3 separate regions of the Homo sapiens genome follow, and all the other regions are linked to region 1. Evidence: promoter capture Hi-C in 16 types of primary human blood cells and fetal thymus (Javierre and others, 2016). All regions are on one chromosome and are shown on one strand. Each heading gives the region's core, a stretch centred on a gene start or on the middle of the fragment in contact. The rest is flanking DNA. Distances are from core to core; before and after follow the strand shown.

Region 1 (3,243 bases), core at 547-3,046:
ACGCCCGGCTAATTTTTGTATTTTTTTAGTAGAGACGGGGTTTCACCATGTTGGCCAGGCTGGTCTCGAACTCCTGACCTCAGGCGATCTGCCCTCCTTGGCCTCCCAAAGTGCTGGGATTACAGGCGTGAGCCACCGCGCTCGGTTCTGCTCATCTTTTAAAACCCAGTTCAATTCATCTCCTCCAAGAAGCTTCATCGACTCCCCCAGGATTCACTCGCCCCATGATCTGACTGCACTTTGTACATACCTCCACTAGAGCATTTATCACTCTGTATTGTAATTATGTCTGTGTCCAGCTCCCTCACTAGATTGTGAGGTCCATGAGGGAGGGCGGTGTCTTATTCATCTCTGTATCCCCTGTGCCTAGCGAATACAGATGCAGAAAGGCCATCTCCAGATCAAGAGGAAATTAACCCAAGATTGGTTATATGGGATTAGATCTCTGGAAGAGAAGCGCCCATCACCTGCAGTGGGCCCCCAGATGACTGGATCTTGTGTTCAGGCATTTCAGAGACAGGAACATAGAAATCTGACACAGCCGCAGCCAGGTAAAACATCGCAGAAGGGCCTGCAAAGAGAAACACAAGGTGTTAACAAATCGGCGAGGTACGATATAGGATCAGCTCCTTCTCAACTCGGGTTCCCCAGCTGAGATCCGTGGGTAAGCAGGAGGTAAGGGGATAAGTGGCTGGAAAGAAAGGCTGTGCTTCCAGGCAAAAGGGGTACTCCTAGGGCACGCACCTAGCGGATTGAGTGCCTGGGCCGCAGCCTGCAACAGATGCAAATAGTCCGCCAAAGTGGTGAACTCTACTGCCAGGAAGGTGCCTGCAGCCGCAGCCTCCTGGTAGCTCCTCAGAGCCTCAGCAAAACCCGGAAGTGCATTCTCCTCGGCCTCCAGGCTCAGCAAGCCCGAAAGGGCTGGGCCCGAAGGCCGCAGAGCGGACAGCCAAGTCTGGGGTGGGAAGCGGTGGGCATAGGGGAAGGCAGAGCGAGCGCGATACAAGAACAGGACCCCGTAGCCGGCGGCTAGGAAGGCCTCGGCCGAGGTTGCACCGCGCCGCCCGCTGCTGAAGTTGTCCAGGAAGCGCACCGGCCGCGCTTCCAGTGGGACCTTGGTGCCGCCTGACGTAACCAACACCACCCGCCGGCCCTGCGCGCCCAGCCTGGCCGCGAAGCGAGCCATAACCTCAGCCCAGCGCGCAGCACCGGGAGGCTGGGGGAACTCGGCTACCGGATCCATTTCCGCCATCTGCAGCGCAGCGGCCGGCGCCTGCGCACGTTTCGCGGCCGCCGCGCCACGCCCCTTCTCGCCTACCTGGTGTACGCGCCGCGCCGTACTGAGTGGGCGGTTCACTACCCTTCTTTTGACACTAGGTCCCGATCTCGCCAAGTCTGGAAATGCGTAGTTGTTCTGCCCCAGAGCCCAGCGAAAGTGACACTGCAACGAGGGGGATCCCCGGCTGGGTGGGCATCTGGTAGGGTCACGTTCCCTCACGTTCGTTTCCTAGCCTGGGTGAAGAACTGGCCATGTTTGACCCTTACCGGCCACTGTACGGGCCTTTCTGGACTTGGACTCCTTGGGAGTCGTTTCTCGGCCATTTGACCCGTGGGACTTGTGGGTTTTGTGCTGCTTTTTCTTTCTTTCTTCCCCTTTTCCAACTTCAGCAATACACCCAGATGTTAGTCGAGTCACGTCCCGCCGCCCTCTGCCCTTGAAATGCTGGCAAGTACGCAGCCCCGCGATCGTCACGTGACGCCGGGGTTCAGCGTATCCTTGCTGGGCAACCGTCTTAGAGACCAGCACTGCTGGCTGCACCATGAATGTGATCTACCCACTGGCAGTCCCCAAGGGGCGCAGACTCTGCTGTGAGGTGTGCGAAGCCCCAGCCGAGCGGGTGTGCGCGGCCTGCACAGTCACTTATTACTGGTAGGCCCTGAAACGTGGCACCTGGGCGCTATAACTCCCTCCCTCTCTCCCTTTCCCGGGTCTGGCTTGGGTACCTTGCGTTAGCCGTTGCCCCTGACTCTGCAAGGGACACCTCAAAACGGCTTTAAGACAGGCCCCTAAGACTCCCGTGGCCTCGTCTGTCTCATCTCCCACTTATTCGTCACTCATGTTTTCTGAAGGCGTACTCTGTGTTATGCACTATTTTAGGTGCTAAAGTTACTGGGGCAGCTCGGTAGATCAGTTCCTTCAAAGATCTAACATTCCAATGTGGGAGACAAATCAGTAAAGAAACAGGCCGGGCGCGGTGGCTCACGCCTGTAATCCCAGCACTTCGGGAGGCCGAGGCGGGCGGATCGCCTGAGGTCAGGAGTTCGAGACCAGCCTGGCCAACATGGTGAAACCCTGTCTCTACTAAAAAATACAAAAATTAGGCGGGAGTGGTGCTGGGCGCCTGTAATCCCAGCTACTCGGGAGGCTGAAGCAGAAGAATCGCTTGAACCCGGGAGGCGGAGCTCGCAGTGAGCGGAGATCGCGCCACTGCACTCCAGCTTGGGCAACGAGAGTGAGACGATAGTGAATGGGGCAGTATGTGGAAAGCTTTCCCTGTGGAAGAAACATTTGAGCTGCATTTTGAGAGGGCAGTCAGAACCTGCTGTGTACAGGAGTAGTGAAGAAGGGTAGGGCATTCCCGGCATCCGGGACTGCTAGGGCAAATGGCAAAAGAACAGAGTTTGCTAAGGGCCGAGTGGAGAACGTAGTAGTGGAGGGAGCAGTCAGTGATTTTCAAACTGCAGGCCAGGGCCCTTTAGCAGTTTATGAATAAGTCACAATCACCATTTAGAGAAAACAACAACAACAAAAAAGAGCACAGAATGAGTAGAAAGTATCAGGTTAATCCTACCTGAATTGTTTCTTAAAACTTTTGTCTTAGTGTTTTATGTGGACATGTGTGTGTGTACAGGAAAAATGTATTTCTTACTATAGGTTGAGTCAAAATTAGCCGGATGTGGTGGCGTGCACCTGTAATCCTAGCTACTCGGGAGGCTGAAGCAGGAGAATCGTTTGAACCCGGGAGGCGGAGGTTGCAGTGAGCCGAGATCGCTCCATTGCACTCCAGCTTGGGCAACAAGAGTGAAACTGTGTCTCAAAAAAAAAAAAAAAAGTTGGAACATCATTGTGATAGGTAGTAGAAGTTTAAACCAAGAAGATAAAGGTTAGGGCTAGACAGTGACATGAGATCAAGGGTTTGGAATTTATCTCCTGGGAAACCATGAATGGTTTTGAGCTGACAT
Region 2 (3,316 bases), core at 674-3,173, 290 kb after region 1:
CACCTCAGTGTATACACACACCTCGGCACACACACGCACAACACAGCAGATGCACTCAGCTCAGCATACACACACACACCTCAGTGCACATACACACACATATCTCAGTGCATATACACACATGAGCATACACACACACATACCTCAGTGCACATACACACACCCCAGCAGACACCCCAGCAGACACACATCCCAGCAAACACACACACCTCGGTGTACACACACGCGCCTGTGTATATACACACTGACACACACACACCTCGATGTATATATGCACACCTCCTTGCACAGACACAGATACCTTGGTGTACACGGACACACATATACCCCTCAGCATACACACACATACACCTCAGCATATATACACATACACTCCTCAGTGTACACACATGCCTCAGCACACACACACCTTCAGCACAAGCACACATACAAACACACCTTGGCTACACACACCCATCAGGGTATATACAGACACCTTGGCATACACAGACATACACATCTCCGCAGACACACCCCCCCTTAACACACACACACACACACACACACACACACTCACCAGAAAGGGGTGGGAAATCCAGTGCAGCTGTGAGGACTGCCCTGGGAGCTGGGCCAGGAGCTACCTGCCCCTCCCTGAGGGCCTTGTCCCTGCAGTTCCCTCCTGGTCAGGCCCTGCTCTCTCCAATTCCCTCTTCAGTGTTGACTCTCCCCACCCAGGAATTCCTGCCCAACCTCCCGCCCTAGGGCTGTCCTGGCATCGGGCCAGGTTGGCTGAGTAGAAAGATGACAATCCCAGGGCTACCCTTTCTCCTGTGTCCTGGGGATTCCTGCTCACAACAGCACACAGTGAATGCACGCTGCCCTGAGGGCGCAGTCTGAATGGGGTCAGAGTCTATAGGGGCGCGGGCACACCCAAGCAATTCCCCAGTGAGATCCGCGGAAAGGGGACTGTATCTGCAGGGGCAAGGGGGGCGGGCGGATTGGGGAGGAGCTCATTCGAGGACACCCTGAGGCTGCAGGGCAGGCAGGACAGGATGGGGACCAGCACAGGATGGGGACAGCCTGTGACTCAGACAGGCAGGAGGTCACCAGAGGGGCCAGGGAGGACCAGGAGCTGCTGTGGCTGCTAATAATATGGGAATGGACCTCTGCTGAGCACCTTCTGTGTGCCAGGCATTGAGCTAAATGTTTTTAAAACCTCACTTGATTCTCCAAACAGTAATGCCTACCACACACCTACCCCATGAGGTAGGTATTATTTTTGGTTCCCACAGGGGACACAAGGGACAACGAGACTCAGAGAGGGGAAAGCATTGGCCCAAGTTCACACGCCTCACAACTGGGCAGTAGGTGGAACGGAACCCAGGCTGTGCGGAGGGCTTCCTTGAGGTCGCGGCAATCAAACCCAGACCCTGACTTGCCCTGCAGCCTCCCCCGTGGAATTTCTCACATTTCCCTGAATATTCCAGGCCCGTCTCACCTCCTGGCTGTCCCTTTGGCATGAAATGGCCTTCTGTCCTCAGTCCCTTCTCTGGGAAAACTTCCACCCATTCTCCAGAGCTCAGCCCCCAGTGCAGCCCCGTCACCTCATCCTAGGATCACCCCACCCTAATCGCCCTGCGTTTCACTGTCGGGCTGGGCCCCCCTCCTCAAGGGCAGGGTCTGCCGGCCCCACACAGCAGCACAGGGCAGTCGTGAGTGAATGTGCCTTGTTGGTGAATGAATGCAGGACCCAGCCCGGCTGTGGGTCAAAGTAGGTGCTCAGGGAGGGGCCGGGGCCCCCCCTGCCTGGCTCTTATCTCCTAGGGCTGTCTCGAGCCTTATCTGATAAGGCCTGACAGGTGAGCAGATGAGACTGACAGAGGCTTCCAGGTTACTCAGTAACCTGCCCTCTTTAAAAGTCCCGCCGCTTCCCCCTGGCATCCAGAACAGCCACCCCTCTCTCGGGCACTGCTGCCATGAATGCCTTCCTGCTCTCCGCACTGTGCCTCCTTGGGGCCTGGGCCGCCTTGGCAGGAGGGGTCACCGTGCAGGTGAGTCCTGTGTCCCTACCCCGGCCCAGCTGGCTCCCTGCCCCTAGTGCCCAGGTCTGGTCCCCTGAGAGAGTACCTCCTCTTTGGGGCTGGATTGAGGGTGTGTGTCCCAGGCTTGGCCTTCTTCGAGGAGCTCCTGCTCAGTCCAGCCACACACACACCTTTCCCTTCAACTTTGGAGGAGAAAGAAACCCAGTGGAGGGAAGAGGAATAACCATATGGGGAAGGCGGGGAGTTGGCCAATTTACTGAGTGTCCTATGTGCCGGCTCCTTCCCCAGCCCCTCACTGTGGCTCCACTATCAACCTGGAAGAAAGGGATCATTAGTCCCATTTTACAGAGGGGAAAACTGAGCCTCACAAAGGTTCTGTAACAGGCCATGGGCACATGGCTGTGGGAAGTGCAGGAGCTGGATTTAAATCCAGACCTTACTCCTCAGTGGGTCCCAGGAACCACATGGACACCCTGGAGGTCCTGACAGATGGGTATGCCTACCAGTGCCAATGCTGGCGACAGGCCAAGCTGGCACCTAGCGGGGGCCCTGATCTCTATCAAAGCCAGATTCCGGGAGGCCTTTTATTGCTTCTCAAACCAAAACCAGGCTGCAGGCTGGAGCTGGGGGCCCAGTAATCAGCCGCACCGCTCTCAGGCAGGGGAAAGACAGCCTGGGCTTGGCCACGTGGAACTACGATGCCTGGGTGCTGGTCCTTTGCCTCTCCCTAAAAATCAGCACACTGGCTCCTACTCATTAGGCACCTATGGTGTTCCTGGAGCTTCACACCCATTTTCTCCATTCCCCATACAACATGCAGAATTTGCGGGTTCCAGAGTGTCCAGCATCACGGAGCCAAGCCAGGACGTGGGGCCTGAACTCTGCCCCTCACAGTGCCCCACTGTGGATCGCCTGGCTCCCATATGCCACGAACACTGCCTGTGAGCACCACTGGGCTGGACCGGGGCCAGCACGGGGGGCACAGCCAGGAAGCAGGCTGCAGCCTGGCCTCATGCTCTGGGCTTCTCTCTTCCAGGATGGAAATTTCTCCTTTTCTCTGGAGTCAGTGAAGAAGCTCAAAGACCTCCAGGAGCCCCAGGAGCCCAGGGTTGGGAAACTCAGGAACTTTGCACCCATCCCTGGTGAACCTGTGGTTCCCATCCTCTGTAGCAACCCGAACTTTCCAGAAGAACTCAAGCCTCTCTGCAAGGAGCCCAATGCCCAGGAGATACTTCAGAGGCTGGGTGAGCAGCCTCCTTCCTCTCTGATTGGTGGGGTTCGGGAATACTGTGGTG
Region 3 (3,485 bases), core at 761-3,260, 360 kb before region 1:
GCGTGGTGGCACACGCTTATAATCCCAGCTACTCAGGAGGCTGAGGCACAAGAATTGCTTGAAGCTGGGAGGTGGAGGTTGCAGTGAGCTGAGATCACACCACCACACTCCAGCCTGGGCGAGAGAGTGAGACTCCATCTTAAAAAAAAAAAAATTAATTTTTTAAAAAGGATTTATATAAATATAAAGCAGTGCTACTCAGTAATATTTTTGTTTCAAAAAAGTTGCTTTTCATAAATATATGTTTTGTTGTTATATAATTTATTATTTTTATTTTTAAAAGTAGTAATTATATTTAATTTTTCTTAGTTTTCTTTTTTTTTTTTTTTAGAGCTAGGGTCTAGCTCTGTTGCCCAGGCTGGAGTGCAAAGGCACAATCATAGCTCACTGCAGCCTTGAACTCCTAGGCTCAAGTGATCCTCTTGCCTCAGTCTCCCTAGTAGCTAGGACTACAGGTGCATGCCACCAAGCCCAGCTATTTTTAAAAATTTTTTTGTAGAGATGGGGTCTTACTACGTTGCCCAGGCTGGTCTCAAACTCCTGGCCTAAAGTGATCCTCGCACCTTGGCCTCCCAAAATGCTGGATTACAGGCATGAACCACCACACCCAGTCAGTTTTAATTTTTAATATGGAAAATTTCAAAAAATATAACTCATATAAACTGAAGCTCCCTGAGGTCCTCAATAATTTTTAAATGTAAAGCGTTTCTCAGAATATATACCTAGAAGTAGTATTGCCAGGTTATAGATGATACTAAATTGTTTTCCAAAGTAATTGTACCAATTTATAACTTGTCATAATTAATATTTTTACTGCTTTCTCCAGAAGCATTTTATCAGATAGTCTAAATCACATCATAAAATGAGTTTCTTATCTGAAATGTTCTTTTTAGACTTCTAACTCTATGAGTGAGAAAAACAGATACAGACATAGATAAAGATATCACTCATAATCGTAATCTCAGAATCCAGTAATAATCACTGTAATTTTTTTGGTCTATATGCTTCCTGACTTAAAAAGAGGGAGCTCTAGATTTCCAGTTAAATAAACATGTCTCATTGAACACAAATGCTTATCTCTGTTACCTCCCAAAATGATCTAAAATGACAATCTTGGAGTGCAAAAGGAAAAGCCTATAAGGACAAAGAGAACAGGACAGTAAGTAACTGTGCAATAGAGATGTCAATACATTTCTTTAATGAAGGAAAGCAGAGGGCTCACTAGTAATAGAGCTAGGAAAAACTGAACTCTAACCCAGGTGCCTGCAGAGGGAGGCAGGATTGGGGGAAACATCAGATAAAGGGTTCCTGACATCAACCCTTGACATCAGCAAGAAGAAAGCTGATTCTCAACTGAGAACCTTCCAGGCTTGGGATGGGAGGGACCAGGGCCTGGCTCTACCTCCCGGGGTTGTTGTAAGGATTAAATTAGCTAAAACATGCAAAATACTTAAAATAGGGGCTGATACTCAATGGTAGCTGTTATTGTCTGAGGATAAGCTCCAACTTGAAAGCCAGAGACCAAAATAAACAACAGAGACAATCTAGGAAGCAGAAGAAAACAGCAGAAAATTACAACTGGAATCCTCAGAAATATGAAATAAGAGAAGATCCTGAATCCACAACATAAGAGCAAGAGGCTACCAAAAAGGAAAGTCGGGGATCAAACAAAAACTCTTGGAAATTAACATTTTTGTAGCAGAAATGAAAAAATTCAATAGAAGAACCAGGGGATACAGCTCAGGAAAATCTCTTGTAAATTAGAATAAACAAAACCAGGAAATGGAACATGAAGAAAAATTTAAAAACAGGGAAACTGGCTGGGTGCAGCAGCTCATGCCTGTAATCTGAGTACTTTGGGAGGCTGAGGCAGGAGGATCACTTGAAGCCAGGAGTTCAAGACTAGCCTGGCCAACATAGGGAGACCCTGTCTCTATTTGTTAAAAAAAAAAAAAAAAAAAGAGAAACTGATCACAGAGAACGTTTCCCAGAATTGAAGACTTTGTTTCCCAATTGAAAGGGGCCACCGAGTGCTTAGCATAATGAATGAAAAATACTTAAAGGACAGTTTGTTATGAACGTTCAGAACATCAAGGATAAAGGAGAAAAATATCCTAAACAAATTAACAAATTAACAAACAAAATATATGGGAAGTAACACAAGTCAGAATAAATCAGTCTCCTCAAGAGTAGCCACATGAGAAGCTAGATGACAATGAATCAATGCCGTTAAACTTCTGAGGGAAAATAATTTCCAATGTGGAAATCTGTCACTCAAGGATGAAAGAAAATAAAGCCATTTTTAGACAAGCAAGGACTCAAAAATTTAGCTTCCATGAACCCCTTCTGGGGAGTTAGTGGAGAACATACTCCTCCAAAATGAGAGAATAAACCAAGAATGGAAAAACATAAGATCCAGAGAGCAGGGGATTTGGCACAGGAGAAACAAGAAGAGAATCCCCAGAATGTGGTTAGGTCCCTAATCCTAGGACAAGAGCTGTGAAGCAAGGCTAAGCAGAGGAGTTTGGAGCAAAGAGAGGATGAGTCTAAGGAGGGATGCTGCCAAGAAAAAAAAAAAAGACACTGGTAAATGACCTGGTTCACATCTGTAGTACCAGCCACTGAGGGGCTGAAGCGGGAGGATCACTTGAGCCCACCTCTGAAAATAAAAAATAAACAAGGGATGCATAGATCATTAAGCAAATAAAAATAGATAATTTTTTGACTCTAGAAAAAATATTATTCAATAAAGTGAATATAATCTTAGTGTAGTATATACCTCAACTGTAAAAATATTCTAGTTATATTACTATAAACTCTTGCTAGTCATTCAACAAACCAGGAAATTCTGCAGCCTGGCCAAGAGTCCACTGGTAGACACAAAAGAGACAGACAAAGCATAAACTCATGGAAAGAATAGAGAGGGGACTTTGACAGTGTTCAGCCTCAACATTCACTCCCTCCTGGCTCCAACCTTCACCTTCCCAATAAAGAATGTAGAATCCCAAACTGGTATCTCCAGTTCCGTTCTTTTCTGAAATCTTCTAATTGCTCACTGGACAATTCTTCTTGCCTATTGCCACTTGAAGCGTAATCTAGCTCTTTCTCTCTCTCGGTCCCTCTCTTGCGCGCGCGCACACACACACACACACACACACACACACACACACACGCTCCTAACTTATCCTCTTCCTCACCGTTTCCCAAACCAACTCATCACACCTTCTCCACTTTCAACAGTGGCTCAGTGGCACCACTACTTTTCCAGTCTTCCATGTGGCTTTTCCACTCCTCCATTCCCTATAGCTGGTTTGTTTTTAGCTGGCTTCTAAAGGTCCTGCCGTGTCTTCAGCTGTAATCTAGTTCATAGCTTATATGAACGTTATAAACCATACCATGTGACACAAATGTAAAATACCAGTACTACATCAAGATTTCTGAAATAGACTCTGACTTGGTTACTTTTATTAATAATAATCGAATCA

The links. Contacts are between HindIII fragments. The CHiCAGO score rates a contact against its expected background, and 5 or more counts as called.
Region 2: a contact is called between the fragment with the promoter of GUCA2A here and the fragment with the promoter of ZMYND12 in region 1, in 1 of 17 cell types (endothelial precursors). The highest score is 11.3, in endothelial precursors.
Region 3: a contact is called between a fragment that was not itself captured here and the fragment with the promoter of ZMYND12 in region 1, in 1 of 17 cell types (monocytes). The highest score is 6.2, in monocytes.

What each region holds. Positions count from the first base shown.
Region 1 is chr1:42,454,575-42,457,817 of GRCh38, reverse strand. ZMYND12 (zinc finger MYND-type containing 12) reads left to right here and starts at 1,796. Exons shown (of 8, transcript NM_032257.5): 1 at 1,796-1,930. The coding sequence starts at 1,821. PPCS (phosphopantothenoylcysteine synthetase) reads right to left here and starts at 1,275. Exons shown (of 3, transcript NM_024664.4): 1 at 745-1,275; 2 at 468-571. The coding sequence starts at 1,252. It also overlaps a transcript of CCDC30 not described here. RefSeq lists enhancers at 925-1,044, 1,135-1,204, 1,445-1,674. The HindIII fragment of the contact is 2,356 bases long and covers 195-2,550 here.
Region 2 is chr1:42,163,352-42,166,667 of GRCh38, reverse strand. GUCA2A (guanylate cyclase activator 2A) reads left to right here and starts at 1,923. Exons shown (of 3, transcript NM_033553.3): 1 at 1,923-2,030; 2 at 3,058-3,265. The coding sequence starts at 1,956. RefSeq lists an enhancer at 1,099-2,063. The HindIII fragment of the contact is 7,781 bases long and covers 1-3,316 here.
Region 3 is chr1:42,818,858-42,822,342 of GRCh38, reverse strand. All of the region lies in intron 1 of ERMAP (erythroblast membrane associated protein (Scianna blood group)), which reads right to left. Among named protein-coding and RNA genes, the nearest start is that of SVBP, 3.2 kb to the right of the region's middle. The HindIII fragment of the contact is 5,658 bases long and covers 1-3,485 here.